Regions from separate parts of the Homo sapiens genome. Here region 1 is linked to region 2. Evidence: promoter capture Hi-C in 16 types of primary human blood cells and fetal thymus (Javierre and others, 2016). All regions are on one chromosome and are shown on one strand. Each heading gives the region's core, a stretch centred on a gene start or on the middle of the fragment in contact. The rest is flanking DNA. Distances are from core to core; before and after follow the strand shown.

The links. Contacts are between HindIII fragments. The CHiCAGO score rates a contact against its expected background, and 5 or more counts as called.
Region 1: a contact is called between a fragment that was not itself captured here and the fragment with the promoter of RAB42 in region 2, in 14 of 17 cell types (M0 macrophages, M2 macrophages, activated CD4 T cells and 11 more). The highest score is 12.9, in M0 macrophages.

What each region holds. Positions count from the first base shown.
Region 1 is chr1:28,411,606-28,414,554 of GRCh38, reverse strand. The region is part of intron 2 of PHACTR4 (phosphatase and actin regulator 4); the gene reads right to left. Among named protein-coding and RNA genes, the nearest start is that of PHACTR4, 43 kb to the right of the region's middle. The HindIII fragment of the contact is 1,580 bases long and covers 709-2,288 here.
Region 2 is chr1:28,591,012-28,593,936 of GRCh38, reverse strand. RAB42 (RAB42, member RAS oncogene family) reads right to left here and starts at 1,672. Exons shown (of 2, transcript NM_001193532.3): 1 at 1,193-1,672; 2 at 1-243. The coding sequence starts at 1,425. RefSeq lists an enhancer at 1-680 and a silencer at 1,462-1,531. The HindIII fragment of the contact is 13,184 bases long and covers 1-2,925 here.

The DNA.
Region 1 (2,949 bases), core at 249-2,748, 180 kb after region 2:
AGTAAAAAAATTAGTCAGGCATGGTGGTATGTGCCTATAGTCCCAGCTACTTGGGAGGCAGAGGTGGGAGAATTGTTTGAGCTCAGGAGGTCGAGGCTGCGGTGCTTTTTTTTTTTTTTTTTTTTTTGAGACAGAGGAAGACTGACCCCAAAAAATAAAAATAAAAAAATAAAATGAAAAAGAAAATAAGGCCAGCTGCAGAGGCTCATGCCTGTAATCTCAGCACTTTGGTAGGCCGAGGCAGGCGGATCACCTGAGGTCAGGAGTTCGAGACCAGCCTAGCCAACATGGTGAAACCCTAAAACTACAAAAATTAGCCAGGCAGTGATGGGTGCTTGTAATCCCAGTTACTCGGGAGGCTGAGGCCAGGAGAATCATTTGAACCCAGGAGGCAGAGGTTGCAGTAAGCTGAGATGGCGCCACTGCACTCTAGCCTGGGTGACAGAGCAAGACTCCATCTCAAAAGATAAAAATAAAGTAAAATAAAATACAAATACAAGTAAAATTAAAAATGGAAGAGAATTAAGTGAAAATATGCATAATTAATGCTGAATGCAGCAGTCTCTTCAGTCAGTTTTCTTCACCCCTTACCATCCAAACACAGTGGGAAGACTGTGCCCCTTAGACCCTGATACTGATATGAGAATGTTCATCAACAATAAGGCCAAGAAGCTCACCCAAAGGCAACCTGCCTATACATTTAAAGCTTCTAACTGGCTATTTAGTCCCTCACTTTTAACCATCAGCAGACAGTTAATTATTACTAGACATCAGAGAAAAACTCTAACATAAAAGAAACCAAATCAATATTTAAAAACAATGTTAGGAAAAAAAGAGACTATGCAGGGCAAGGAAAATCTGTTGAAAGAATGAAAGGATAGTATAAAAAGAAACATGCAGAGACTTCAAAAAGACCTCCTGGAGATTAAACTCTAATAGTAGAAAAGAAAAATTTAATAAAAGTAGAAGATAAAGTTGAATAAATCTTGCAGGAAACATATCTAAAGGAAAAAGAAATGAATTAGATAATTATTCCAGGAGGTTCAACATCAAAAAGCTACTGGCAACCAAGACAGAGGAAGACATGAGGGTTTAGGAAACAAAGGAGCTAACACAGGAAAGAAGCAAAGCTGTCAGGAAAATGGAGACTGGATAACCCAGGATGACAGTTGCGTACCACCTCTACAGACTGCAAGGCCACCTGTACACAGACTGGAGCAATGTGACTCAAGAGATATATTGAAAGCTGTCATCACCAATATCTCTGCTGCTATTTATCCTTTTTAAAGCTAAGAACACAGTACCCAGGTGAGCCTGGCCCTCAGCCTGTCTTGACTAAATGCTTATGGATTTCTTCTTTGAACATACTTGATTGCCTAATGAGTTCCAGACTCATTTCGCTCCACAAAAGTTTCTTTAACCCAGCGGTCCCCAACCTTTTTGGCACCAGGGACCAGGTTCATGGAAGACAATTTTTCTACAGACGGGGGTGTTGGGGTGGTTTGGGATGAAACTGTTCCACCTAATCACTGATCTGACAGGAGGTGGAGCTCAGACTGTAATGCTCACTGGCCCACTGCTCACCTCCTGTGGCCCGGGGGTAGTGGTGCAGGGTACTCCTGCTTAGGAGAAACCACAGAGCTAATCACTCCCTCTGACCATATTTCTGTCAAATGTCCAAGACCTAGTCCACACTGAAACCCTGCCCAATACAATCTCCAGGATTAAATCTTAACTTTACTCATGACTTCCATAGAAGGGCCTCTAGGAACCTCAGGAAAATGAAGCAAGTATAATCTGCTGATCTCTGGGGATCCCTGAGATCCTTTCAGAAGTCCAAGAGGTAAAACTAAATACATAAGAATACAAAAAAATTATTTGCCTTTTCCACTGTGTTGACACTTGCACTGATGGTACAAAAGCAATGGTGAGCAAAACTGTTAGCACCTTAACACAAATCAAGGCAACAGCACCAAACTGTAGCAGAAATCATTGTATTCTTCACAACTACACAGTTACAGTGAAAAATAAATTCAACTTTAAGAATGTCCTTGATAAAGCAATAAAAAATATTAGTTTTAATAAATATCAACCCTTTAGTACATATATTTTTATTACTGTTTATGATGAAACAGAAATATGTATAAAGCACATTTGTATACTAAGTATGATGGTTATCTCCAGGAAAGGCATTTGTGTGACTGAGTTGCAAACTGAACTAGACAGTTTTCTTCATGGAATACTATTTTTACTTGAAAGACTGAACAACAAGCTATGTTATTCAAGCTTAGATAGCTGACAGGCATTTTCTCAAAAGTAAGCCTGTCACTAATAAAGAAAATTAACAGTATTTGTTGCTAGTGATAGAATTCAAGCTTTCAAGTGAAATTCCTATTTTGGAAAATTTACATCCAGAATGAGCTTGACAGCTTCCCAACATTTAACATTTTTTTCAACGAGACCAATAGTGATATTAACGAACATGATATTTAAATATTATATAATGAAATGTGTAAGCATCTGTCCAGGTAGAAAAGGTCCTAGAGACCTTAGGTCTATCCTTCTGGTACTTTATTCGTAAAAATCCCTCACTACTTTTATTTCCAGAATACCACAAATAATTCTTTCTTTCTTTCTCTTTCTTTCTTTCTTTTGTTCATTCGTTCTTTCTTTCTTTTGTTCATTCGTTCTTTCTTTCTTTCTTTTGGGTGGTTTCTGTTTTCTTTTTTTCCTTTTTTATGTCATTTTTTACTTCAATAGGTTTTGGGGAATGGGTAGTATTTGGTTACATGAATACGTTCTTTAGTGGTGATTTCTAAGATTCTGGTGCAACCATCATCCAAGCCGTGTACACTGTACCCAATGTGTAGTCTTTTATCTCTTTTTCAATATTTCTACTTAATTATTAGCTAACTTGATTATAACAAAATTCTCACTCCACCAAAAGAA
Region 2 (2,925 bases), core at 423-2,922:
GAGGTCTCCACGAAGGCCATGCCCAGGGAGGCAGCTAGCTCCTCGGCCTCCTGGGCTGAGACACAGCGGGTGCTCTGCAGGTCACTCTTGTGGCCAACCAGCAGGAAGATGACCTTGTCCGGGCCCTGAGTGGCCATGACCTCCTGGTGCCAGTCTTGGATGTGTTCAAAGGACTTCCTGTTTGTCACATCAAAGACCAGCAGGACACCCACCACATTCCGGTAAAAGGACCTGGTGATGCACCTGGGGAGGCAGGGAGGTGGAAAGGTAAGCTGGGAGAGGCTGATGCCTCCATGACACCCCCAGAGGCAGGACCTCCTCCCCCTGGGATCCACAGAATGCCTCACACCCCAACAGGGCTCACTTCACACGGCCCCGTGGTTCTCTGCCTCGGTGTCTGTGTCTCTCCTAACAGTCTGGGTGCTGGCCGGGTGCGGTGGCTCACGCCTGTAATCCCAGCACTTTGGGAGGCCGAGGCGGGTGGATGTGGATCACGAGATCAGGAGATCCAGACCATCCTGACTAACACGGTGAAACCCCGTGTCTCTACTGAAAATACAAAAAAATTAGCCGGGCGTGGTGGCGGGCGCCTGTAGTCCCAGCTACTTGGGAGGCTGAGGCAGGAGAATGGCGTGAACCCAGGAGGCGGAGCTTGCAGTGAGCCAAGATCGCACCACTGCACCCCAGCCTGGGCGACAGAGAGAGACTCCGTCTCAAAAAAAAAAAAGAAAAGAAAAAAGTCTGGGTGCTCCAGTTAGGGAGCAAGCGTGACTTGAATCCCTCATTCTTGGAGAAGGCCTGGTGCTGCCCTGACCTAGGTCTTCGTTCCTCTGTTCTCTTCCTGGCAAACTCCTGCTGATCCTCTCTCCCTTCCACATCTCCTCGACACTTCCCGCTCTGTTCCCCTGAGCTCTCAGCACCCGGGGCCAGTATCACTCAGCATCTCTCCAGAGTCCAGAGCTCAAAGCCAGGGATGTTCCTGGTCTCTGGGACTCGACCCACCCCGCAGTGTTCGTGGGAAAAATGACTCCGAGCAGGGGAGGTTCTGGCCCCAGTGGACCGGGCGGGACCCAGGGCAGGGACCTCGCCCTCCGCCTGACCTCTGAGTTGGCCTCTCGGGAGTTGCCGTGGCCTAAAGCACGCTCACCGAGCCCCCCACCAGAAGTCCCTCCCGCGCCCCGGCTACCCGCACCTGAAGCGCTCGTGGCCCGCGGTGTCCCAGAGTTGCAGCTTGACCCGCGGCCCGGCCCGCAGCTGCAGCGCGCGGCGGTAGCACTCGGCGCCCACCGTGGGCTCGGGCTCGGGCTCCGGCTCCGGGGCGCCAGGCGCGCCTGCCACGTAGCTCCGCAGCAGCGACGTCTTGCCCACCGCCGCGTCCCCCAGCAGCGCGACCCGAAATTGGTAGCGGCAGCCCTCGGCCTCCATGGCCGCGTCCGCCACCCCGCCGCCCCGCGGCGGTTTTGTCCGCGCCCCGACCCCGCCCCTGCCCGGGGCCCCGCCGGCGCCGCCCCCCGCTCCCCGCGCCCAGCCACCGTACCCGGCGGGGCACCGAGGGCGTCGGACCGAGTGGAAACTCCTGGCCAAGTTTCTCTCTCTCGAAGCCTCAATTCTCTCCTCTGTAAAAGGGGGCTAATGATGACCCCTACTTCACAGGATAAAGGGACTAAACTAGATGAAGTGAGGAGGGGCATGGGGAGGAGACTAACAGCGCTGAAGCATCCACCTCACTCATTTCTTAATCTCCAGCCCCACCCCCTTACCCGCTCCACACCGCTCCCCCGCCCCACCCCCCGCCTCCTCTGTGGGTTCCCTAGTTGGCGCCCAACCCTCTGCTGGACCCGGGAAGGCCACTCTGGAAGTGAGTGGTTAGTAGATGCTCCCTCTCCACCCAGAAGCCCTTTCCTGGAGCCCTCATTAGCCCCGGCCTGGGGCCTCTAGTTCAGTGTTCAGGTTCAACGTTCAACAGCCCCCACGGCTTCCTCTAATGCCTGTCTGAGTTGGACACCAGGGCCCCAGAAGGAACTTGGGCACAGTCTGGTTGAGGAGGCAGGACAGACACAGACAACTGCAGTTCTAAAGGGAGTGCAGTTGGCCTGTGGATTCGACAACTAACATGTATGAGGCCAACGGTCAGTTCATGTTTTGTGGACAGCAACCCTTTGACAGGGCCATGGGAGTGCCCCTCTTAGAGCTGAGGAGACTGAGGCTCAGAGGCACGGCTTGTCTCAGGTCACACAGCAGAGTTGGGACTCACATCCAGGTTTGTCTCATCCTTCATCACCCCTTCGATGCCACAAAAGGGGACAAAGCAGGTCCCACAAGCACTAAGACACTGGTTGAGTTTTGCTTGGGTGAGGGGCTAGGGTGAGGCAGCACATGAGCCTCCAAGGTTTACTCCACCCTTTCCAGGCTGGCCTTCTGGAAACCCAGGGCACTGAGGCTGGAGTTCCAGTTGCTCCAGCCAACTCTAGTCTCTCTAGTCTCGTTTTTATTTATTTACTTATTTTTGAGATGGAGTCTCACTCTGTCGCCCAGGCTAGAGTGCAGTGGCACAATCTCGGCTCACTGCAACCTCCACCTCCTGGGTCCAAGCCATCCTCCCAACTCAGCCTCCCAAGTAGCTGGGATTATAGGCACCTACCACCACGCCCAGCTAATTTTTGTATTTTTAGTAGAGACGGGGTTTCACCATGTTAGCCAAGGTGGTCTCAAACTCCTGACCTCAAGTGATCCGCCCGCCTCCATCTCCCAAAGTGCTGGGATGCTGGGATTACAGGTGTGAACCTGTACCACGTCTGGCCCACATGCACTTCTGACCATCTCTGATGTCAGTCTCTCTCCCAGGCTGCAGGCTCCTTGAGGGCAGGGGCTGATGATTGTATCCTCAGGGCCTAACTCAGCGCTTGGCATAAAGTAGAAACTCAA